Linked DNA regions of Homo sapiens: regions 1, 2, 3, 4, 5 and 7 are each linked to region 6. Evidence: promoter capture Hi-C in 16 types of primary human blood cells and fetal thymus (Javierre and others, 2016). All regions are on one chromosome and are shown on one strand. The core of a region is centred on a gene start or on the middle of the fragment in contact, and the rest is flanking DNA. Distances in the headings are between cores, read along the strand shown.

The links. The method cuts DNA at HindIII sites, captures the fragments that hold promoters and counts their contacts. A CHiCAGO score of 5 or more calls a contact.
Region 1: a fragment that was not itself captured here is called in contact with the fragment with the promoter of KIR2DL3 in region 6 in 1 of 17 cell types (non-activated CD4 T cells); the score reaches 5.5 in non-activated CD4 T cells.
Region 2: a fragment that was not itself captured here is called in contact with the fragment with the promoter of KIR2DL3 in region 6 in 1 of 17 cell types (non-activated CD4 T cells); the score reaches 5.4 in non-activated CD4 T cells.
Region 3: a contact is called between a fragment that was not itself captured here and the fragment with the promoter of KIR2DL3 in region 6, in 1 of 17 cell types (non-activated CD4 T cells). The highest score is 5.8, in non-activated CD4 T cells.
Region 4: a fragment that was not itself captured here is called in contact with the fragment with the promoter of KIR2DL3 in region 6 in 5 of 17 cell types (total CD4 T cells, non-activated CD4 T cells, naive CD4 T cells and 2 more); the score reaches 8.2 in total CD4 T cells.
Region 5: a contact is called between a fragment that was not itself captured here and the fragment with the promoter of KIR2DL3 in region 6, in 4 of 17 cell types (non-activated CD4 T cells, activated CD4 T cells, total CD4 T cells and 1 more). The highest score is 6.4, in non-activated CD4 T cells.
Region 7: a fragment that was not itself captured here is called in contact with the fragment with the promoter of KIR2DL3 in region 6 in 1 of 17 cell types (naive CD8 T cells); the score reaches 6.4 in naive CD8 T cells.

What each region holds. Positions count from the first base shown.
Region 1 is chr19:55,973,057-55,976,567 of GRCh38, reverse strand. It overlaps NLRP8 (NLR family pyrin domain containing 8), which reads right to left. Exons shown (of 10, transcript NM_001433706.1): 7 at 2,746-2,916; 8 at 265-435. Among named protein-coding and RNA genes, the nearest start is that of NLRP5, 12 kb to the left of the region's middle. The HindIII fragment of the contact is 2,930 bases long and covers 129-3,058 here.
Region 2 is chr19:55,938,022-55,941,894 of GRCh38, reverse strand. No RefSeq gene overlaps it. Among named protein-coding and RNA genes, the nearest start is that of NLRP13, 7.6 kb to the right of the region's middle. The HindIII fragment of the contact is 7,001 bases long and covers 1-3,873 here.
Region 3 is chr19:55,737,498-55,741,051 of GRCh38, reverse strand. NLRP9 (NLR family pyrin domain containing 9) reads left to right here and starts at 2,650. Exons shown (of 9, transcript NM_176820.4): 1 at 2,650-2,957. The coding sequence starts at 2,678. It also overlaps the pseudogene RN7SKP109. The HindIII fragment of the contact is 1,780 bases long and covers 716-2,495 here.
Region 4 is chr19:55,916,986-55,920,595 of GRCh38, reverse strand. The region is part of intron 4 of NLRP13 (NLR family pyrin domain containing 13); the gene reads left to right. Among named protein-coding and RNA genes, the nearest start is that of NLRP13, 14 kb to the left of the region's middle. The HindIII fragment of the contact is 762 bases long and covers 1,396-2,157 here.
Region 5 is chr19:55,873,406-55,876,794 of GRCh38, reverse strand. The region is part of intron 7 of NLRP4 (NLR family pyrin domain containing 4); the gene reads right to left. Among named protein-coding and RNA genes, the nearest start is that of NLRP4, 39 kb to the right of the region's middle. The HindIII fragment of the contact is 602 bases long and covers 1,643-2,244 here.
Region 6 is chr19:54,736,592-54,740,087 of GRCh38, reverse strand. KIR2DL3 (killer cell immunoglobulin like receptor, two Ig domains and long cytoplasmic tail 3) reads right to left here and starts at 1,575. Exons shown (of 8, transcript NM_015868.3): 1 at 1,509-1,575; 2 at 546-581. The coding sequence starts at 1,542. It overlaps KIR3DL3 (killer cell immunoglobulin like receptor, three Ig domains and long cytoplasmic tail 3), which reads right to left. Exons shown (of 8, transcript NM_153443.5): 8 at 3,456-3,496. The HindIII fragment of the contact is 12,642 bases long and covers 1-3,496 here.
Region 7 is chr19:55,892,115-55,895,527 of GRCh38, reverse strand. It overlaps a transcript of NLRP13 not described here. Among named protein-coding and RNA genes, the nearest start is that of NLRP13, 39 kb to the left of the region's middle. The HindIII fragment of the contact is 595 bases long and covers 1,092-1,686 here.

The sequences.
Region 1 (3,511 bases), core at 344-2,843, 1.2 Mb before region 6:
AGATTGCTGCATCCCACCCTCAGAGTTTCTGGTTCCCTAGGTCCGAAGTGGGGCCCCAAAATTTGTGTGTGTCCTGCCCAGGCGAAACTGCTGCTGATCCACACTTTGAGAACCACGGCTCAGAAGCTTCCCAGTTCTCCAATTCAATGGAGGGAACAATCCAGAAACTTAAAAAGACAGCCCTTTCCTGTTATATATTCCATCCTGAGAGACGCTTATATACAATTCTCCTGGTCTCACAGGAGGAGACGAGGGGCCACTTACTCCAGGATCTGTAATGTACAGTCAGGGTTCTTCAGGGCCTCACACAGCAGGATCACCCCATCATCCTTCAGGCTATTAAAACTTAGGTCAAGACTTTTCAGGGTTTTATTTTTACAGAGCGCAGAGATCATATCCTGACAGCAATTAAAGGTCAAGTCACACTTTCTCAGTCTGCAAAGAAACACAGGTTAAAAACAACAACAACAACAACTACAACAAAACAACAACAACAACAACAACGAAAACACCCTTAGGTTTTACTTCTTTGTTTTTGGGTTCTGTTTTTATTTGTTTGTTTTGTTTGTTTGTTTTTTGTTTTTGCATAATGGCATAACCAAGATGCAATTAATATATCACACAATTCACCCACTTAAAGTGTACCAAATATTGGTTTTCAGTCTATTTATAAAGTTGTATGATCATCACCACAATTTTAGAATATTTGTGTAAGTTCGGTTTGGAATATTTTTGTCACCCCTAAGGAAAACCCTGGATACTTTAGAAGCCACTTCTCACTTCCTCCCCCAACCCACCCCAACCCTAACACCACTAATTTGCTTTCTTTTTCTGGATTTGCCTATTTTTGGCATGTCATTTAAATGGAATCATGTAATATGTGACTTTTTGCGTTTAGCTTCTTTTATCTACCATAATATTTTGAAGATTCGTCCATGCTGTAGCATGAATCAGTATTTCATTTAACAATTAAATAACATTCCATTGCGTGAATACACCATACTGCCTTTATGCCGTCATCAGGGCACAGACACAGGTTGTTTCCAGGTCTTGGGTATTATGAGTACTATGAATAATGCTGCTGTGAACTGTGTGCAGGTTTTCATGTGGAGGTGGGTTTTTATTTCTTTTGTGGATACACCTACTAGCAGGACTGATGGCTCACGGATTAAGTCTGTGCTTCACCTTTTGAGGAACTGCCAAAGCTGCTTTCCAAAGCAGTGGCACCGTTCCCTGCTTCTTTTTGGAGAACTAACAGTATCAGTGTTTCAGGGGGTATTTTGCGCCACCTCTTGCCTTTCACAAACATTTGCTGAGAGTTACTATGCTTGGGGCATTGAATTAGGGGATGGGAATTCACGCAGGCAGAGCCCCTGCCTTTTAGCAGCTCATATTCTCATGTGAGACAAGAAATAAAGAGGGGATTCGATGGTTATGGTTCGGTGATGTCCTAGTAAACCAGCTCTCTAGAGCAAACAAACAAAAGCCCTCATGTGTAGTGATTGCCAGTTTCCATGGTGCAAACACTTCTGCCATGGCTGATTTCAAGCTGTGAAAATGAACTACCTCGTGACAGAGCAGGAGCACCGTGATCTCGGACAGACACTGGCACTTTAAGTTCCAGCTCCCTTTCTAACCTCATGCATTTCAAGGAAATCATTTCTCTCCTAATTACAAGCAGCCAGAAAGAACAGACAGTAAAACACAGATAAGACAGCTAGGGCACAGAGGGAGGTGGGGGGAAAGTCTCTCGGGTAACTGCCAAACTTCACATTCATGCCACGAGCCCCAGTAAAACAATGGGCCTTTTTTCTTTCTTTTTTTTTTTTTTTGAGACAGAGTCTCACTCTGTCGCCCAGGCTGGAGTGCAGTGGTGCGATCTTGGCTCACTGTAAGCTCTGCCTCCCGGGTTCATGCCATTCTCCTGCCTCAGCCTCCTGAGTAGCTGGGACTACAGGCGCCCGCCACTGTGCCCGGCTAATTTTTTGTATTTTTAGTAGAGACGGGGTTTCACTGTGGTCTCGATCTCCTGACCTCGTGATCCTCCCGCCTCGGACTCCCAAAGTGCTGGGATTACAGGCCTCCCAAAACAGTGAGCCTTAATAGCACATTCCTTTCCCTTCAGGTGCACTAAGATAGGGAAGCTAAAAGCAGACTCAGGGGATATGCCTGCAGCTGCAGAAGGATGTATGGGAACAGACACACAACTCTCCCTCCCAGATAAGCACAACCAAGAGTCACAGAAGCAGTCCAAGCCTCTGATAAATATTCCCACCCTGAATCTTTAAAAACTCTTAGTCTATAAGAGAGTGTAGCTCTGACCTAACTCGGCCAGAAGCCCCTCTCAGGTCTGTTTTCTCTAAAATAAACCTGTCCTTAACTGTCAAGCCACCTTTTGTGTTTCTTTCCTCTTTCTTTAATTCTTACACCTCGAGGTAGTCGTTCTTACAGTGATGAACAGATAGATCTCAATATTCCTTAAATTTAAAATACCCTGCAGTCCTTCTGAGTTCACTCCTGGGTGTCTTGGTACACAGTTTGAGAACTCTGCCTCTAGATCACTTGTCCCTGAATCAGAAATAATAACCCTCCTCTTTATTGTGCTTTTCCCCTCAGTGCTAGCACCATGCCTAACACGCAGTAGGCACTTAATAAATATGTGACATAAATGAATATATAACAGGTTCTCTTCATCACCCTGTTCTGCTCCAGGGAATTCAGAGAAGAAAACATTCTGGGACTTACACCAGCCTCTGCAGAGGACATCTCAGGTGTGGCAGGGCATTCCAAATATGCTTGGCCCCTTCATCTTTCAAGGCGTTTTCTGCCAAGCTCAGGTGGGTCAGCATCTTACTCTGCCTGAGACAGGAGGCAAGGCTTTCACAAGTAAGCTGTGTAAGGTTGCAGTTCTCTATCCTATGGGAGAGAAGCACACAGATGACTGAATGGAGAGGGGTCTTTGTCTCACACAGAAGGGTGATCTTCTCAGTCAGGGCTCTCCCTCTGGATGCAGAAGCATCCTCACACCTCTGTCATCACCACTCAGGACTTCCAAGCTTTCAAGGAAAGGACAGCAGCTTCGATGTGGGAATGGTGGGATGAAGGCATTGTGGATCAATAAAACTGATAGACTAAAAAGCTTCTGCACAGCAAAAGAAATAATCAGCAGAGTTAACAGACAGCCCACAGAGTGGGAGAAAATCTTTACAATCTATACATCTGACAAAGGACTAATATTCAGAATCTACAAAGAACAAATCAGCAAGAAAAAAAAATCCCATCAAAAAGTGGGCTAAGGACACGAATAGACAATTCCTAAAAGATACACAAATGGCCAAAAAGCAAATGGAAAAATGCTTGACATGACTAAGTATCAGGGAACTGCAAATTGAAACCTCAATGCAATACCACCTCACTCCTGCAAGAATGGCTATAATCAAACAATAAAAAGAAAGGTGTTGGTGAAAAAGGAACACTTTTACACTGTTGATGGAAATGTAAACTAGTACAG
Region 2 (3,873 bases), core at 278-2,777, 1.2 Mb before region 6:
TCATCCTCCATTTTCTCCCCCATACATTTACCTTCTCACAATTTACCCCCCCAGGAATTCGAGGTCTTTCTCATTTGTCTTTTCACTTCTCTGAGAATGTACTGTTCTGGCCAGGCACAGTGGCTCACGCCTGTAATCCCAGCACTTTGGGAGGCCGAGGTGGGCGGATCACCTGAGGTCAGGAGTTCGAAACCAGCCTGGCCAACATGGCAAAACCCTGTCTCCACTAAAAGTACAAAAATTAGCTGGGAGTGGTGGCGGGCACCTGTAATCCAAGCTACTCGGGAGGCTGAGACGGGAGAATTGCTTGAACCTGGGAGGCGGGGGTTACAGTGAGCCTGGGCGACAGAGTGAAACTCCGTCTCAAAAAAAAGAGAATGTATTGTTCTTTTGTTAGCATGACATATAAGCCTAAGTTCTAACCACCCCTGAGTGTTCTCATCATGGAGTGCTCCCATGGGTATGCACACATAAACTTCTGTTTGCTGTGCTTTTGTTAATCTGTCTTTCATGAGCCTAATGCACAGACTCCAGCCAAGGAATCTAAGATCAATAAAGAGAGAGCCATGGAATCTAAGATCAATAAAGAGAGAGAGAGGGAAAAGTATTTCCTTCCCTACAGAAGTATATCAGGATCATCTACACATGAAATAAGCCAGGCACAGAAAGACAAACATTGCATGTTCTCACATATTTTTGGGATCTAAAAATTAAAACAGGTTGGGCACGGTAGCTCAAGCCTGTAATTCCAGCACTTTGGGAGGCTGAGGTGGGCAGATCACTTGAGTTCAGGAGTTCGAGACCAGACTGCCCAACATGGCGAAACCCTGTCTCTACAAAAAATACAAAAATAAGCCAGCTGTGATGGCGGGTGCCTGTAATCCCAGCTACTTGGGAGGCTGAGAAACGAGAATTGCTTGAACCCGGGAGGTGGAGGTTGCAGTGAGCCGAAATCGCACCACTGCGCTCCAGCCTGGGTGACAGAGCGAGAACCTGTCTCTAAATAAATAAATATCACAACAATTGAACTCATGGATATAGAGAGTAGAAGGGTGGTGTTCAGAGGCTGGGGAGGGTTGTGGGGTGTGGGGAGGAAAGTGGGGGATGGTTAATGTGCCCAAAAAATTAGAAGGACTGAATAAGACCTTGTATTTGATAGCACAACATGGTGACTATAGTCTATGGCAATTTAATTATACATTAAAAATAACTAAAATAGTATAATTGGATTGTAACACAAAGGATAAATGTTTGAGGGGACGGATACCCCATTCTCCATCATGTGGTAATTACACATTGCATACCCGTATCAAAGCATCTCGTGTACCCCATAAATATATACCTCTACTATGTACCCAGAAAAATTAAAAATTAAAAAGCAGGCCGGGTGCGGTGGCTCATGCCTGTAATCCCAGCCCTTTGGGAGGCCGAGGCGGGCGGTTCACCTGAGGTCAGCAGGAGGAATCGCCATACTATTTTCCATTTCCCATCCCCATCAACAATGCACTAAAGTTTCATTTTCTCCACATTCTTGCCAACGCTGATTATTTTCCATTTTAAACATAGCTATTCTAGCGGGTAAACATTTTTAAAAGATAAAAGTCTGTCATCTCCATTTGGTTCTGTGGTCACGTCTTGATCACCCTAGAGTCCATATAACTCTACGTTTTGGTAAGAATTATATCCCATGAATCCCTTTCCGTCCAATTTACAAAGGAGAAAACGGAAATTGAACTAAGTTAAGTAAATTCAGCCCAAGCTGTGAGTGTTGGAAACCAGCAGGTGGAACCTGACCAAATTCCTAAGCCCACGAGCCGAGCCGTGTGGGTGACACATCTGCGTTTATTGAGAAGGAATATTTGCAGAGGGGCAGTGTCAAAGTCAGTGCTGCTTAATCCTTGCGGCTTTCTTTCTCTGTGCCTCGCGATTTCTTCTTCGCGTCTACAGCTATTTTGATTTTTTTCTAACTACATCTGTCAGTGGCTACCCTAGACCTCTGGACACCTGGAGACCCCACGACATCTCTTTCAGGTCTTAGAATTTTGCTAGTGCTATGAGTCTCCTGGCTCTCAGACCCTCAGAGCTGAAAGAAAACTTGGGAATTTAGGACTCCACTTCGGGGTCAGGAAAGCTGAGTTTCAGAGATGGGCAAGGATTTTATGAATGAGAGCTGGTTATGTTTGCAGTTGAATCTCTAGCTCTCACTTTTGATTTTCAGTATGGGCCCACTGGGTGCGCCCAACTCAAGGGTCTAGCCATTGTAACTGCAAGGAAGTGGATGATGAGGAAAAGAGTAGGTAGAAAAGAGAAAAGAACAAAACAAAACAAAACAAAGCTCACCTCTGCAGAGAATTATTCTTCCTGCTCCTTCCTGTCAAAAGCATCTCCCAAAACGGAGATCGCCTGGCCTGCCCCACCCCCCAACCCTTATAGGTGCCGGGGAATTCAGACAATTGGCACCTTCTCTTCCCATTGGCGGGGGCTGGCTCACTAGAATTCCTCTGCATTGCACCGATTGGAAGGCATTTAGCTCCCTTGATTCAGAATGAATGAGCTGCAGGTCTTGATCCTACAGGTGCTTCCGATTTGTAAAGGAAACTCTTCCCTTGCTTCTTAGGTCTAGAAGAACAAGCAACAGAAAATTACATGTTTGGAGAGCTTCCCAGTCTCCTTAGAAGGCTAACACCGTGTTCAGTCCGAAAGTGCCACTTCCCATTTGGAAACATCCAGTCATTCACGGGCTCATCTTGTTTACATGTTCATCTCTTCTACTTGGGATATAATTGTATCGAGCAAAAGGAGGGTCTCAAGATCATCAGGGCCCAGTCTAGGTCCCACATACAACGGGCCCAGTCTCAGGGAGACCCAGAGACAGAGCTTGTGGGAGAAGGAAAACTCACCAGCAGAGAGTACAAGGGAGGGGGCGTTGGGAAGGACTGGCTTGAGGAATTTTCTTTTAAAAAAATTACCACTAGTTGGCTGGGCGCGGTGGCTCACACCTGTAATCCCAGCACTTTGGGAGGCTGAGGCGGGCGAATCAGGAGGTCAGGAGATCGAGACCATCCTGGCTAATGCGGTGAAACCCCGTCTCTACTAAAAAAAATACAAAAAATTAGCTGGGCGTGGTGGCGGGCACCTGTAGTCCCAGCTACTCGGAAGGCTGAGGCAGGAGAATGGCGTGAACCCGGGAGGCGGAGCTTGCAGTGAGCTGAGATCGCGCCACTGCACTCCAGCCCGGGTGACAGAGCGAGACTCCGTCTCAAATAATAATAATAATAATAATAATAATAATAATAATAATAGTAATAATCACCTATAGTTGAAGGGGAGAAACCCCACAAGATAACCAACTTTACCAAGTTTGCATCAACTCAGGATAGAATATCAGCGGTTTTTACATAGGAGTTTTAATTTTTTTCAATTTTATTTTATTTGTATATTTTTGAGACAGGGTCTCGTTCCATGACTCCGGACGAAGTGCAGTGGTGCAATCATAACTCACCCCACAGCCTCGGCTTCCTGGGCTCAAGTAATCTTCTGCCTTAGCCTCTGGAGTAAACGGCATTACAGGAAAGGGGTCCCGGTCCAGATCCCCAGAGAGGGTTCTTGGATCTCTTGCAAGAAAGAATTCAGAGTGAGTTCGTAAAGTGAAATCAAGTTTATTAGGAAAATAAGGGAATAAAGAATGACTACTCCATAGAGCAGCCCTCGGGCTGCTGGTTGCCATTTTTATGGTTATTTCTTGATGATATGCTAAACAACAGGTGGATTATTCATGCCTCCCATTTTTAGACCATATAGGGTAACTTCCTGACGTTGCCACAGCATTTGTAAACTGTCATGGTTCTGGTGGGAGTGTAGCAGTGAGGACAA
Region 3 (3,554 bases), core at 356-2,855, 1.0 Mb before region 6:
TTTCTCTACCTTCTCATCAACACTTGTTTTGAATTTTTTTTTTTTTGTAGTTACCATCTTAGTGGATGTGAAGGATTATCTCATTGTAGTTGTGATCTGTATTTCCCTAATGGTTAGTGACGTTGAGCCTCTTTTTATGTGCTTATTGGCTATGGACCATTTGTATATCTTTGGAGAAATGTCTATTCTAGTCCTTTTCTCATTGTTATAAGATTGTTTTGTTATTGAGTTTTAGGCATTCCCTGTAATCTGGATTTTAATCCCTGTGAGATACATGCTTTGCAAATATTTTCTCCCATTCTGTTGGTTGACTTTTTACTCTTTTGATATCGTCTTTGTTTTTGAGACAGAGTCTCGCTCTGTCACCCAGGCTGGAGTGTAGCGGTGTGATCTCAGCTTGCTGCAGCCTCCGCCTCCCGAGCAGCTGGGATTACAGGTGTCTGCCACCACGCCTGGCTAATTTTTGTATTTTTAGTAGGGACAGGGTTTCACCATGTGGGCCATGGGTCTCAAACTCCTGGCCTCAAGTGATCCACCTGCTGCGGCCTCCCAAAGTGCTGGGATTACAGGCATGAACCACCGCACCTGGCTGATACTGTCTTTTGATGCACAAAATTTTAAAATTTTTATAAAGTCCAGTTTGTCTATTTTTTTCTTTTGTCTGTGTCATGTCATATTCAAGAAATAATCCAGACCAAATCTGTGTCTGGAAGCTTCTGCCCTACATTTTCTCCTAGGAGTTTTATACTTTGGGCCTTCCATTTAGATCTTCTTCAATCCATTTTGCATTAATTTTTGTTTATGGTATTAAGGGTCCAAGTTTATTCTTTTGCATGTGACCATAGATGGTATGTAACCTTTGCTAATGGTTTGTAATTATCTGAAAGGTATATTAGCTCAGATACAATGATATTGCGTTTGTCATCATCTCCTTATGTGTAAAGTGGTATTCCCAGGTGCACATATGCTCATGAGTTCTAGATCTTGGGGAACTGAATCTTGGTGTTCAAAAATTCTTAGTCCATTTAGTGCTTTCTAGCTTGAGTGTTTTTCAATGCTGATATTTTATACTATTAATACTTTTTTGGGTAAGAATTTGCCAGGCTTTTTCTTCTTCTGTTTTACTTCTCTGTGTATTTTCTAGGATTCTCTTATAAACAGCATATAGCAGGATTTGTATTTATCCAATGTGAGTCTATATATTAGTGAGCAATTTTATTTCATTCATATGTGTTAAGATTATATTTAGGCTGGGCGCAGTGGCTCAAGCCTATAATCCCAGCACTTTGGGAGGCTGAGGCAGGTGGATCACCTGAGGTCAGGAGTTCGAGACCAGCCTGGCCAACATGGTGAAACCCCATCTCTACTAAAAATACAAAAAAAAAAAATTAGCCGGGCATGGTGGCAGGTGCCTGTAATCCCAGCTACTTGGGAGGACGAGGCAGGAGAATCATTTGAACCTGGGAGGCAGAGGTTGCAGTGAGCTGAGGTCATACCATTGCATTCTAGTCTGGGCAACAAGAGTGAAACTCTATCTCAAAATACATATCTATATATATTTGGTATTATTTTTGCCACCTGTCTTATTTTGTCTACCATATATTTCTACTTCATTTCCTGTCTTTTGTTGAATTGCAATGATTATCTGAAGGGTTTATAATACTGGGAACGTTCACTGCTCTGTTTCTGTCTGAGTTGTCTGCAGATGCTAACCTATAGTAAATCTAACTTTTTCCTTATATACTGTAATAAGAAGGCATATACCGGCCGGGCACGGTGGCTCATGCCTGTAATCCCAGCACTTTGGGAGGCCGAGGCGGGTGGATCACGAGGTCAGGAGATCGAGACCATCCTGGCGAACACAGTAAAACCCCATCTCTACTAAAAATACAAAAAAATTAGCCGGGTGTGGTGGCAGGCACCTGTAGTCCCAGCTACTCAGGAGGCTGAGGCAGGAGAATGACGTGAACCCGGGAGGCAGAGCTTGCAGTGAGCCGAGATTGCGCTACTGCACTCCAGCCTGGGCATCAGAGCGAGACTCTGTCTCAAAAAAAAAAAAAAAAAAGAAGGCATATACCACTAAACGATAAAAAAAAATTTAAATTTGCTTTTATGTCCTCTTCCTTTATTTTCATCTTCCTGAATGTGATCATCTGTAATTTTAATATCCGTTCATTTTTTCATTATCAAAATTGGATTAGACTATACTAAGGATGGGAAGGTCTACAGAGCAAACAAACTCATAGAATGCTGGTAGGAATGTCAGTAATTATATACACAAGGGAAAACCGTTGAGTGTTATGTAGCAAACATGGTGACCTGTGTTTGCTGTTTGACCTATAATTTATAAATCTAGAGAAATGTGTGCTTATATACACCAAACTACACAAAAACACTTGTTCCTGGAAGCATCATTTATGTCAGACAAAAACAAGACACATAAGTGGCAGTCAACTCTACCATTCACATGCATTTGTTTGGAAAAAGATGAAGCTTCTTCCCTAGATGATGTTTGGTGCAAGCTACGCATGATGATATCAATAATTTTGAGCTGCTTTCAGCTGCTGAAGCTTAACTCTGTAATCATGTCATTCTTCTCCAGGTATCATTTATTCTTTATTTTTGAGGATCTTTCTTTTCCCTCTGGAGACACCTCAGTTCACAATCCTGGGGCGATATGGCAGAATCTTTTTTTTCGGATTTTGGCTTGTTGTGGTATCTGAAGGAGCTCAGAAAGGAAGAGTTTTGGAAATTTAAGGAGCTCCTCAAACAACCTTTGGAGAAATTTGAACTCAAGCCAATCCCCTGGGCTGAGCTGAAGAAGGCCTCCAAAGAAGATGTAGCAAAGCTGCTGGACAAACATTACCCAGGAAAGCAGGCATGGGAGGTAACACTGAACCTGTTTCTACAGATCAATAGGAAAGATCTCTGGACAAAGGCTCAGGAAGAGATGAGAAGTAAGTGCTGGATGATGGGGCGAGGACCCATGGGGGAAGCCTGGGAACAAGGTGATAGCATTGTTAAATGAGTGGCCACCCCCTCCATCAGATGAGAATGTGTGTGGGTCAAGGTGAGAGTTGAAGGTAGGAAGAGTTGCAGGCCAGGGCTGTTCATATGTGGGCCAGCGATGAACTGGGGACAGATGGCGTCCTGATACCAACTGTTCACCTATGGAGTGTCTTCCCATTTTTCCACCCCAAGTGGAGTCGTTGTTATAGGAGATGAGTGGCCAGTTAGTGTCTGCATTGCCAGGTCTACTGAGATGGAATTCTAGTATGGTAGTTGCCTATCTTTTTTTTTTTTTTTTTTTTTTTTTTAGAGAAAGGGTCTTGCCATGTTGCTCAGGCTGGTCTTGAACTCCCAGGCTCAAGTGATCCACCTGCCTAGGCATCCCAAAGTGCTGTGATTACAGGAGTGAGCCACCATGCCTAACTGCCTGTCCTTTTTGACCAGACATGTACCAAGGAGTAGGTAGAATCTTAAGACAATCAGACAGCGTATGTCCCGGGTACTACAGGAAGCATTCTTGCGAGCTTGTTTGGAGGTTCTAGTAG
Region 4 (3,610 bases), core at 527-3,026, 1.2 Mb before region 6:
TGTGGCTTTAATTTGCATTTCTCTGCCTAGTGATAATGAGCATTTTTTTTTTACATGTTTCTTGACTACTTCTATGTCTTCTTTTAAAAAATGTCTGCTTATGTCCTTTCTCCATTTTCTAATGGGATTTTATTTAAATTGAGTTCCTTGTAGGTTCTGGATATTAGCCCTTTGAATGTATACTTTGCAAATATTTTTTCCTATCCTGCAGGTTATCTGTTCACTTGATTACTTCTTTTGCTGTGTAGAAACTTCTTAATTAAGGCATATCAGTTTATTTTTGTTTTTCTTGCATTTGTTTTTGAGGTCTTAGTCATGAATTCTTTGCCAAGGCAATGTCCAGAAAACTTTTCCCTACATTTTCTTCTAGGATTTTTACAGTTTCAGGTCTTACATTTAAATCTCTATTCCATCTTGAGTGAGCTTTTGAATATAGTGAGAGATATGGTCCAGTTTTATTCTTCTACATATGGCTAGCCAGTTTTCCCAGCACCGTTTATTGAATAGAGTGCCCTTTCCCTAGTGCGTGTTTTTATTGACTTTGCGGAAGATCAGCTAGCTGTAGGTATATAGCTTTATTTCTGGCCTCTCTATTCTGTTACATTGATCTATGTTTATTTTTGTACTAGTACCATGCTGTTTTGTTTACTATATCCTGGTAGTATAATTTGAAGTCAGGTAAGGTGATGCATACAGATTTGTCCTTTTTGCTTCTGATTGTTTTGGCTATTAGGGCTCTTTCTTGGTTCCATATGAATTTTAGGATTGTTTTCTCTAATTCTGTGAAATATGTCACTGGGAGTTTGATAGGAATTGCATTGAATTGATATATTGGAAAATATGGTCATCTTAATGACATTTATTCTTATCCACGAGCATTACTTGTGTCATCCATAATTTCTTAAGCTTTTTGTAGTTTTCCTTGTGGAGATCTTTCACCTCTTTGGTTGAATATATTCCTTAGGTGTTTTTTTTTAAGCTATTGTAAATAGATTGCCTTCTTAATTTGGTTCTCAGCTTGATCATTATGGAGTATAGAAAGGCTACTGATATTTGTACATTGCTTTATTTTAATACTAAGATTTTATGAATTCATTTATCAAATCTAGGAGTCTTTTAGAGAAGTCTTTAGAGTTTTCTAGATATAAGATCATATCAACAGATAATTTGGCTTCTTCTTTACAATTTAGATACCTTTTTATTTCTTTCTCTTGCCTGATTGCTCTGGCTATGACTAGCCAGTTTTGTGTTGAATAGGAGTGGTGAAAGTGGGCATCCTTGTCTTGTTCCAGTTCTTGGGGAGAATGCTTTCAACTGTTTCCCATTCAGTATAATGTGGGCTGTGGATTTGTCATATATGGCTTTTATTAGTTTGACATATGTTCCTTTGAAGCTTAGTTTGTTGAGGGTTTTTATCATGAAGGGATGCTGAATTTTACCAAATGCTTCTATGCATCTGTAGAGATGATCATATAGTTTTTGTTTTTAATTCTGTTTATGTGGCGAATCACATTTATTGATTTGTGAGTGTTGAACCGTCCTTGTATTCCTGGGTTAAAACCCACTTGGTCATGGTGTATTATCTTTTTTATGTGTTGTTGGATCAGTTTTCTGGTATTTTGTTGAAGATTTTTGCACTTATGTTCATCAGGGATAGTGGTCTGCAGTTGTCTTTTTGTGTCCTTGTTGAGCTTTGGCATCAGGATGATACTGGCTTAATAAAAGGAATTAGAGAGCACTCCCTCCTCTCCAACATCTTTTTCTGCAACAGTTTCAGTAGGATTGGTACCAGTTCTTCTTTGTATGTCTTGTAGAATTTGGTTGTGAAATACATCTGGTACTGGGATTTTTTTGTTATTAATTTTTTAAATTACTGATTCACTCACTCCTTGTTGTTGATCTGTTCAGGATTTATATTTATTCCTGATTCAATCTTGGTAGGTTGTATGTTCCCAGAAATTTATCTATTTCTTCTTGGGTTTTTAGTTTGTGAGTATAGAGTTGTCCATAGTAGTCTCTGATCATCTGTATTTCTGTTGGCTCAGTTGTAATGTTTCCTTTTTCATTTCTGATTGTTTGTTTGAATCTTCTCTTCTTTCATTAGTTAGTATAGCTAGCCATCTATCAATCTTGTTTATTTTTTAAAGTAACCAAGCTTTGGTTTTACTGATTCTTTGTATTGTTATTTTGGTCTCTATTTCTGCTCTGATTTGTTATTTTTCTTCTAGCTTTGGGTTTGATTTGTTCTTATTCTTTTTCCTTGAGTTGCATTGTTAGGTTGTTAATTTGTGATTTTTTTTTAAATGTAAGCATTTAATGCTATAAACTTTTTTTTTTTTTTTGCTGTATCACAGAGGTTTTGATATGTTGTGTCTCCATTTTCATTAGTTTCAAAAAACTTAATTTCTGTCTTAATTTTGTCATTGACCTAAAGATTGTTTAGGAGCAGTTGTTTAATTTCTGTGCATTTGCATAGTTTCAGGAGTTTCTCTTGAGATTGATTTCTAGTTTTATTTCACTGTAGTCTGAGAAAAATACTTGATATAATTTCCATTTTTAAAAAATTTATTGAGCCTTGTTTTGTAGCCTAACATACGGTCTATTTCAAGGAATGTTCCATGCACTGATGAGAAGAATATATATTCTGCAGTTGAGTAGAAGGTTCTGTAAATGTGTGTCAGTTTCATTTGGTCTAAAGTCCAATTTAAGTTCAGACTTCCTTTGTTGATTTTCTGTCTTGATGATCTGTCTAGTGCTGTCAGTGGGGTGTTGAAGTCTCCCACTATTATTATTTTGCTGTCTTTAGGTCTAATAATATTTGTTTTATGAATCTAGGTACTCTGGTATGGATGTATATATGTTTAGGATTATTATATCTTCTTGAATTGATCCCTTTATCATTATATAAAAATCTTCTTTGCCTTTTTTTAAACTGTTGCTGGTTGAAAGTCTTTCAACTAATATAAGTATAGCTACTCCAGTTTGCTTTTTGTGAAGCAAAGGGGGAAAAGTGGAATCTTTTTCTACACCTTTACCTTCAGTCTATAGTGAAGTAAGATGAGTTTTTTTTTAAGCAGCATATATTTGGCTTATGTTTTAAAATCTATTCCTCCAATTTATATCTTTTAAGAAGCGCATTTAATCCATGTATATTGAAGGTTAATATTGATATATGACCTTTTTTCCAGTTACAATGTTGATTTCCATTTGCTTTGCAGATTTTTTTGTTCTTTTTCTTTGTGATTTGATGGAATTGTGTCATGCTATCATTTGATTTCTTTCTCCTTTGTGTAATTGCTTTATAAGACTGGTGTATTTTATAGTTTTGTGTGTTTTTGTGATGGCAAGTATCAACCTTTTTAGTTCCATGTTTAGAACTCCTTCAAGTATTTCCTGTAGTACAAGTCTAGTAGTGACAAATTCCCTCAGTGTTTGCTTGTCTGAAAAAGACTTTATTTCTTCATTTATAAAGCTTATTGTAGAAGGATACAAAACTTGGGGTTAACAGTTTATTTCTTTAAACAAAAAACCTTTGAAATTCCAATTCCTTCTAGCTTGTAAGATTTCTGCTGAGAAGTCTGCTGTTAGTCTGATGGGTTTTGCTTCATAG
Region 5 (3,389 bases), core at 694-3,193, 1.1 Mb before region 6:
ACAAACGAAAAAACCAATAGAGTATAACAACTGTTCACACAACATTTACATTGTATTACATATCACAGTAACTTAGAGATGATTTACAGTATTATGGGAAGATGCCTGTACATTATATGCAAACACTATATAGGCCAGATGCGGTGGCTCATGCGTGTAATCCCAGCAGTTCGGGAGGCTGAGGTGGGTGGATCACCTGAGGTCAGAAGTTCCAGACCAGCCTGGCCAAAATGGTGAAACCCTCATCTCTACTAAAAAAAACACAAAAAATACAAAAAATTAGCCGGGCATGGCGATGCGTGCCTGTAGTCCCAGCTACCCAGGAGGTTGAGGCACAAGAATCACTTGAACTCGGGAAGCAGAGATTGCAGTGAGCTGAGATCGCACCACTGCACTCCAGCCTGGGCGACAAAGTGAGAGACTGTCTCAAAACACACACTATGCCATTTTACATTAGGAACTTGAGCATCTACAGATTTTGGACTCCTCAGGGGAAATCTGTAGCCAACCTCCTATGGATATGGAGGGACAACTGAATTGTCTCAGCATCGTTTGTTGGAGGTCTATCCTCTCTCTGCACCAGTGATACGCTATTCCATGATGCGACATCTGAACACACGTGGATCAGTCTGTTTCTGAGATCTCTATTCTGTGTCTCTGGTCTGTCTGCTTATCCCTGTGTGAATCTCATGCTTTTTTAATTTCTAAAACTTTAGATGACACATTTAGAGCAAGAGTTCCTACATTATTTTTATTTGAGACGGAGTTTCACTCCTGTTGTCCAGGCTGGAATGCAACGGCACAATCTCAGCTCACTGCAACCTCTGCCTCACGGGTTCAGGTGATTCTCCTGCCTCAGCCTCCTGAGTAGCTGGTATTACAGGCATCCACCATCATACCCAGCTAATTCTGTATTTTTTTTTTTTTCAGTAGAGACGGGGTTTCACTATGTTGGTCAAGCTGGTCTTGAACTCCTGACCTCAGGTGATCCACCCACCTGAGCCTCCCAAAGTGCTGAGATTACAGGCGTGAGCCACCGCGCCTGGCCCACTTTTTATATTTTAGGTGTTTCTTAGGTATTCTTGGCCTCTTGCAAGTTCCATACACATTTTAAAATTTACTTTTCAAGTTCAACTCAATCACCAAACAAAAACATCGCATTTTCACTGGGATTTCATGAAAGCAAATGAATTCAACTTACAGAAAACTGACTTTTTAGATACTGAATATTTCAATCTTTGAATATAACATTGTTTTATACCATAATTTGATCATATTCTCTATAAAAGTCTCACATATATCACAGTAGCTATTTCTAGGTAATTTCTTTTTTATGTTACTGTAAAAGGTACTTTTATTTAATTCCACTAGCTTATTACTTCTTGTTGGTATATCAGTAACTGTTTTTGATATATTGTTTCAAGCAAGCTTGTTAGACTAATTCTGATAACTTAGCTACAGATTTTCTTGGATTTTTCTATGTACATTCAAATCATCTGTATAGAATTAGGTGTTTCTTCAAAGATTACAGGTTTAGTGTTTTTCTTACCTTGAAGCATTTGCTAAGATTTTCAGGACACTGTTGACTAGAAGTGATTATAGCCACCGTTCTTATCTTTTTCATGATATTGAAGAGAAAGCTTTTCTCTCATCATTAGACAAATGTTTGCTTTAGATTTTTTTGAACATATTCTTTAGATCATCAAGGAAGTTCCCAAATAGTTTTTCAAGAATTGTATGTCTTAATTCAAACTTTTCTGCATTTTAGATCATGATTTTTATTTTTAACCAGTAAAGTGATTTACATTGATTTTTTTACTAATCTTTTTAATGTTAAAGCAACTTTACATTTTGGGGATAAGCCCAACTTAGTCATTATGTTTATTCTTTTAATACATTTATGGATTCTGCTTGCTAATATTCTGTTCAGTGTTTTTGCATTTCATGAATGACACTAGCCTTTAATTCTGCTTTCTTACAAAAATTGTAAGGATTATATTACAACCAATAAAATTCTTATTGGTTTCTGGCATCAAGATTATGCTAGCCACAAAAAATGGTGGGGAGTTTCTCCTCTTCTGATCCTGAAAAAGCTGATGTAAGAGTGGAATTATTTATTCTTTGAATGTCTGGTAAGAATCACCAATGAAGGCTTCTAAGCCTGGAATTTTCTATATAAAAAGATTTGACTGATTCATTTTTCTTTTGTCTTGAGTACATTTAGGTTCTATCATTTTAGAAGCTTATTGAGTCTTGAAAATATCTAAATTTTCAAGTTTATTGTGTAAAGTTGCTCATATGTAATCTTTTTAATATCTGTAGCATCTGTAGTAATGTTTCTTTTCCCATTCTTGACATAGACCTGCACTCTTCAGTGTGATAGCCAGCCACGTGTGACCACTGAGCACTTGGAATGTAGCTTGTCTGAATCTAGATGTGCCATAGTATAAAATACATAGTGAACCTTAGAGAGTTAATACAAAAAAGTAAAATCTCTCATTAGTAATTTTTTGTACTGATTACATATTGAAGTGATGTTTGATATATGGCTAAATAAACTATATTATTAAAATTAGTTTCAAATATTTACTTATAAAATTACTTTCAAATATTACATCACTTTTAATATGGCTACTTGAAAATTTAATATTACATGTGTGGCTTGCATTATATTCTATAGGATGGCATTAACAAAAACTGTTTTTTCCAAGAACCACCCTGCAGGTTTCTGATCTTTTCCATTGTGATTTTTGTTTCATTAGTTTCTGTCCTTATTTTTATTTCCTTCCATCCTTTAGGGGGTTTATTTTACCATTAAAAAAATCCTTAAGTTCATTATTCTTTAGATTCCTTTTAAAATATATACATGCACTACAGCTCCATCTGAGTTTGTTGCAAAGTATATTCCTTTTTCATTTCAACATATGTTCTAATTTCCATTATGATTTCTCTTAGATTCCTGGACTCTATATGGGAAGTAATTATGTTCACCTTGTAAGATTTAAAGTTCAACTGAGTAGGAAGATAATTTAAAAATTAGCATGAACCGAATAATACTTTGTCTTAAATTCTATTTTGTCTGATTCATACAGTTGCGTAAGCTTCCTTTTAATATTTGCGTGGTCTTTTTTTCTATCCTTTCATTTTCATCATTTTATTGAGGTAAAATTTACTTAAGATTAACTATATTAAAGTGAACAGTTCAGTGGCACTTACTACAGTTCACAATGTTGTACAACCACAACCTCACGTTTTAATAAGTAACTTATAAACATTAGTTACGTTTTAATATGGCAATCTTTTAGCTGAAACATTTAATCTGTTCGTTTAATTACTAGCATATTTGAATTCAAATATATATCTTGTTTCATATTTTCTTACCTGTTCAA
Region 6 (3,496 bases), core at 326-2,825:
TGAGAACTTTGAGCAAGTGCTGAGTAAAGAGACTCCTACTAGATTTTAATACTGTAAGATTACTCACATAAAACAACACAGGGTAGACATGAGGTGGAGGGCATGTCCTTTGTGAATGGATATCAGCGGATGCCTGAACGAAAATAAACAACTGAGCCCCCATCAGAGGATTTGGAATGTCAGGGCCATGGCTGTGGTTTCCCACCTCTTCTGGTAGAATGACAGCAGCCACACTGCAGCCCCTACCATCATGGAAACGCTGAAGTGTGTGAGTAACACCTTTGTCCTCAGAGGATCTGCTGTTCCTACCACTTCCCAACCACACACCCCAGCTTTGAGCACCCCAGTCTAACCCTGGTCCCCACAGAACTTGACTCTGCCAAGGGGTTGAGAGGCCAGGGAGGCGAGGTCAGAAATGTGGGCTGAGCACCCCAGGGTCCTCTCTTCCTAGTTTATGAGAGACTCCCCGACAGGACTTCCCTCCTGTTTCAGGAAAATCCTCTTATGTGGGGAGATGACACCCGAAGGTTTGGAGAAGGACTCACCCTCATGTGGCCAGGCCCCCTGCAGCAAGAAGAACCCTGGAAAGAAAGATCATGATGGACCATCCATCTGCAGGCAAACCAGGCCTCCCTTGCTGCCCCCACTGGGCTGTGAGTCTTGGCAGCCAGGCCCTTCCTGGGCTGAAGTTAAACTCACCCTCAGTGCCTACCTGCACCCAAGAACAGGGCTGTCGGCTGTGCAGAGACCCAGTTTCCAGGCCCATATCCCCACCCCAAGCCCATATCTCCACTCCAGGCTGATATTTCCACCCTAGGCCCATATCGCCAATCCAGGCTCAGATCTCCACCCTAGGCCCCTATCTCCAATCCAGTCCCATATCTCCGCCCCAGGCCCAGATCTCCACCCTAAGCCCATATCTCCACTCCAGGCCCATATCACCTCTCCAGTCCCATATCTCCACACCCAGGCCCATATCTCCTTCCTAGGCCCATATCTCCACTCCAGGCCCAGATATCCACCTCTAGGCCCATAACTCCACTCCTGGCCCATATCTCCACTCCAGGCCCATATCTCTACTGCAGGCCCGTATCTCCACCTCCAGACCCATATCTCCACTCCAGGCCCATATCTCCACCTCCAGGCCCATATCTCCACCTCCAGGCCCATATCTCCACTCCAGGCCCATATCTCCACTCCAGGCCCATATCTCCACTCCAGGCCCCTATCTCTACTGCAGGCCCATATCTCCATCTCCAGGCCCATATCTCCATCTCCAGGCCCATGTCTCCACTACAAGCCCATATCTCTACTGCAGGCCCATATCTCAACCTCCAGGCCCATATCTCCACTCCAGGCCCAGATCTCCACTCCAGGCCCAGATCTCCACTTCTAGGCCCATCACTCCATCTCTAGGCCCATAACTCCACTTCCAGGCCTATATCTCCAACTCTGGGCCCCGATCTCCATCCCCGCACTCCCTCCCTCGATGCCCTTCCAGGACTCACCAACACACACCATGCTGACGACCATGAGCGACATGGTGCTGTCTGTGCAGACAGGCGGCCGCGCCCCAGCTCAGCTCAGCAGCGCACAGGATGTTATTTGGCGCCCTGCCCATGCAGTTTACATGTTGACCACATCATGGGAGGGTGACGTACGCAGGCTCTTTCTACCTTGCATGAGGCCCAGTGGGTGCTCGCTCAAGAGCGGAACATGGCTTCCTGGAAATTGTTCTCACTAGAATTGACACCTTGCGTCCTTCACTACGACCAGACTCAAAAGACGTCTCAGATCCAACCTCTCATACACGAGATGATTGAATTCTGTGCTTACATTAAAGATTTTTGATGTATTTTTGTTTTTATCTGAGATTCAAACTCTTCTTCATATGTAATGTGCAAAATGTCTAACAGGTATTATTAACATTATCAGAGTAATTGTGACAAGAAGCCATTCTAATTTTCCTGCTTGAGTTTCTACTACTAAACCAGAGGCATCAGAATAGCTTGAACCTGGGAGACGGAGGTTGCAGTGAGCTGAGCTCAAGCCACTGAACTCCAGCTTGGGTGACAGAGGAAGAGTCTGTCTCAAGAAAAAAAAAAAAAGCAAACTAAATAACCTATAATAACAAATCAGAGGACTCAGGTTACCAAATTTTAAGGGGTTCTATAAGTTTATATAAAATGCAGCATCCTCATGAGAGGGGATACAGAGAACCACTGGACAGAAAACTGTGTCTAAAATACATCTGTGGATACACAGTCCCTTTATAGTTGACAAAGGCTGCCATGTAGTTTAAGGTGGAATAGAATATTTTCTCAACAAATAACACAGGACCATAGGGTTACACGTAGGAAAAAATAAATCTAAACTTATCCTCACACTATAAAAACACTTCTTATTTTTTATCTTGTTGTTGTAAATTTTTTATGCTTTATTTTTAAGATTGACAAATAAAAATTATATACCATGGTCCTTCACTATACCTGGGTGATTGGTTCCAGGATCCCCATTCAGATACCAAAATCTGCAGATGCTCAAGCCCCTTGCATGAAATGGCATAGTGAAGCTGGGCACCGTGGCTCACGCCTGTAATCCCAGCACTTTGGGAGGCTGAGCTGGGTAGATCACAAGGTCAGGAGTTCAAGACCAGCTGGTCCAACATTCTGAAACCCCATCTCTACTAAAAATATACACACAAAAAAATTTATCTGTGCATGGTGGCACGTGCCTGTAATCCTAGGGGAGGCTACTGGGGAGGCTGAGGGAAGAGAATCGCTTGAACCTGGAAGGCGGAGGTTGCAGTGAGTTGAGATCACGCCACTGCACTCCAGCCTGGGTGAGAGAGTGAGACTGTCTCAAAAAAAAAAAAAAAATAGCATAGCAATTGCATAGAACCCATGCACATCCTCCTGTATACATGAAATCATCTCTTGATTACTTATAATTCCTGACACAGCCTACACGCCACTCAATTTGTGTCGATTCAACATAGTTTTTTGCTTTTTGAAACTTCGGGGATTTTTTTTCTCAAAATATTTTTGATTTATTGCTGATTCAATAAACATGTGTAAACCCCAGAGATATGGAGGAGTGACTGTCTATTTATAGTAGTATGAAAGATGATGTGTTGATACGTGTCCCTGTGGAGATGAGACTAACAAGGCCTATGACTCTACAAATGTTTCATCGTGGAATGACTCTGCCAGCTTTCCAGATCTGCAGAGAGTAAGAATATCACTTGTTCATCTGATTCACCATCCTTGGAACCTCCTATGTGCTGCATCTTTGGATGGAAATTGGAGTCTCAGAGACAATTCAGGCTCCACCATGCTTCCAGAAGCTCAGAGTCCAGGGCTGAGAACCCAGCGGAGAACAGATGGGGTTATGTGGACGTGGTAATGATAACACCGGAAGCCTTAGGCAAGAAAAGAGTCCCATTGAAGAAACCATGAGGGCAGACATGTTTACTTGAAGAATAGAAAACTACATT
Region 7 (3,413 bases), core at 140-2,639, 1.2 Mb before region 6:
TATTTTTGTAGAGATGGGGGTTTCACCGTAGTGGCCAGGCTGGTCTTGAACTCCTGACCTCAGGTGATCCACCCACCTCGGCGTCTCAAAGTGCTGGGATTACAGGCATGAGCCACCATGCCCGGACTGTTTTTTCTTTTCTTTTTTGAGATGGAGTCTTGCTCTGTCACCCAGGCTGGAGTGCAGTGGCGCAATCTCAGTTCACTACAACCTCCCCATCCTGGTTCAAGTGATTCTCTTGGCTCAGCCTTCCCAGTAGCTGGGACTACAGGTGCATGCCACTACGCCTGGCTAATTTTCTTTTTCTTTTCTTTCTTTTTTTTTTTTTTAACATACTTTTAGTAGACACGGGGGTTTCACCATGTTGGCCCGCCTCCCAAAGTGCTGCGATTACAGGCGTGAGCCACTGCTCCTGGCCACCAGCCTATTTTAATATAAATATAAATTTTTAATTTTATTAGGTTGGTACAAAGTAATTTTGGTGTTTGCTATTACTTTTAATGCAGTGGTTTTAAAGTAATGGTTTTTGCTGTCACTTTTAGTGGCAAAAATGGCAATTACTTTTGCATCAACCTACTAATTAAATCTTAACAGCCACATGTCGCTAATGACTACCGTACTGGATGGTGCAGTCCTGGAGACTTTTGGGTATTTTGAGAGCCTGCTTCTGTTTATCATTCTTGTACCTACTGTACGTGTCACTCCATAGCCATTAACTTGTGGCTTCTTTTTCAATACCGACTCTGGGCCAAGCACCATGGCATGGTAGACAGGGGGGAAACAAACGGACATGAGCCTTGTCCTTGAGAGTCTTGAGTTCTCCTCCAGGAGATAACAGGTCTGAGACATAAAAGCAATCTCTGTTGTCATGAATGCTGTGAAAGAAACTCTGGGTTGAGATAAGACAGGAGGGTGACCAGAATAGCAAGGGGCTTGCCAGAGGCGGTACCATTGATCCTGAGTCCCAAGGAGGCTGGAAGGAGGAGTCCCTATATCAGGAAGGGAACATGAGAGGTGACTAGAGATGAAGGGTGGAATGTACTGAGGATGTTTCAGTAGCATGTGCAAAGGCCCTGAGGTTGCACCAAGCTTTATGTTGCCCCTTTGAGGCACTGAGAGAAGAGCATTTAATTAGAACACTTTCCACCCCATTCAGTATTCTGAGAGGAAATCAGAAAGGTAAGCAGGTTGGCTGCAGTTGCTCATGCCTATAATTCCAGCACTTTGAGAGGCCAAGGCAGGAGGATCACTTGAGGCCAGGAGTTCAAGACCAGCATGGGCAACATAGGCAGATCCTGTCTCTACAAAAATTTTAAAAAATTGGCTTGGCATGGTGGCACACACCTGTGTTCCCAGCAACTTGGGAGGCTGAGGTGGGAAGACTGCCTGAACCCAGGAGTTTGAGGCTGTAGTGAGCCATGATCATGCACTCCAGCCTGGGTAACAGAGCAAGACCCTGTCTCAAAAAAAAAAAAAAAAAAAAAGTTGGGGCATGGAGAAAGGTAAGCAGTTAACAGCTGTTACTGGTACATCTCAGCAGAAGTCATCCCAGATGCCAAGGAACCTTGCCTACTTTAGGAAGTGAGTCACGATCTGCACCTTTTAAAGATTTGATGTTGCCAACTTCACACTTCAGTGGTGCATTTTAAAAAGGGTTCTGGGACAGCAACCGTTAAAGATGAAGCTTCTCTGCTGTCTATCATGCATGTGTGCAGAAGGGGCTTCTGACTGGGTGCCCAGACCCTCGCCTCCTCTTGTAGAACGCTCAGATTTTATTTTTCAAAAATTGCTAGATGCAGATTAATGAGAAGTACTTGGATTTATTCATACACAGTGAAAATGGCCTGAGTTACTCTGGCCTGCCCACAAGGTCCCTTGTGTCATCTGCGCCATGGTTTTCTCATCCTCTACCTTTGTGGTTGTGCCTTTTCTCTATGGAAAGGGGTTCCCGTGCCATCAAATCTTCTCCCTGACATCTGTGGGTAAGGCTAGGGTGGTGGGAGGTCCCAGTCGAAGGGTAAACAAAAGTTACCCTTCATTTGTTAGTCTTTCTGTAGGTAGGTGCCAAAGTAATTGTGTTTGCTATTACTTTTAATGCAGTGGTTTTAAAGTAATGGTTTTTGCCATTACTTTTTTTTTGAGATGGAGTTTCACTCTTGTTGCCCACACAGGAGTGCAATGGCGTGATCTCGGCTCACCGCACCCTCCGCCTCCCAGGTTCAAGCGATTCTCTTGCCTCAGCCTCCCGAGTAGCCTGGATTACAGGCACGTGCCACCACACCCAGCTAACTTGGTATTTTTAGTAGAGATGGGGTTTCTCCATGTTGGTCAGGCTGGTCTAGAACTGCCGACCTCAGGTAATTCACCTGCCTCAGCCTCCCAAAGTGCTGGGATTACAGGTGTGAGCCACCATGCCTGGCCGCCATTACTTTTAATGGCAAAAATGGCAATTACTTTTGTCTAAACCTTTATTATGCTTTATATCAGTTTGCCACTTTACACTGCACCCTGCCTGTACTTCACTGCTTCCATCCAGTCTGCTGTTGATGAGCACCTAGGTTGGTTCCATGTCAATGCTATTGTGAACAGTGCTGTGAGGAACACACACATGCATGTGGTCCACATACACCATGGAGTACTACACTGCTCTAAAAAGGAATGAAACCATGTCCTTTGTGGCAACATGGACGCAGCTGAGGGCTATTAGCCTAAGTGAACTAATGCAGGAACAGAAAACCACATACCACATGTTCTCACAAGTTGGAGCTAAACAATCAGTACATGTGGATTTAAAGATGGTGACAGTAGGCCAGGCATGGTGGCTCATGCCTCTAATTCCAGCACTTTGGGAGGCCGAGGTGGGCAGATCACCTGAGGTCAGGAGTTCGAGACCAGCCTGGCCAACATGGTGAAACCCCATCTCTACTAAAAATACAAAAATTAGCCGGCGTGGTGGTGTGCGCCTATAATCCCAGCTATTCAGGAGCCTAAGGCAGGAGAATCGCTGGGGCCCAGGAGGTGGAGGGTGCAGTGAGCCGAGATCACGCCACTGCACTCCAGCCTGGGTGACAAAGTGACACTGCGTCTCAAACAATACGTATATGTGTATGTGTGTATGTATATGAATATGTGTGTGTGTATGTGTGTGTATATACATATATACACATATATTTGTTGACAAGACACGGGACTACTAGGAGGAGGAGAGTAGGAAGGAGGCAAGGGTTAAAGTACTTTCAGGTGCTATACTCACTACCTGGGTGATGGGATCATTCACACACCAAACTTCATGCCACACAGTAGACCCATGTAACAAACCTGTACGTGTTCCCCTGAACCTTAAAAATTAAAAATTACTTCTAAACTTCTTCACTGCTTCTAAACTTCAGTACTTCTTATTTTGCAGGCTTCAA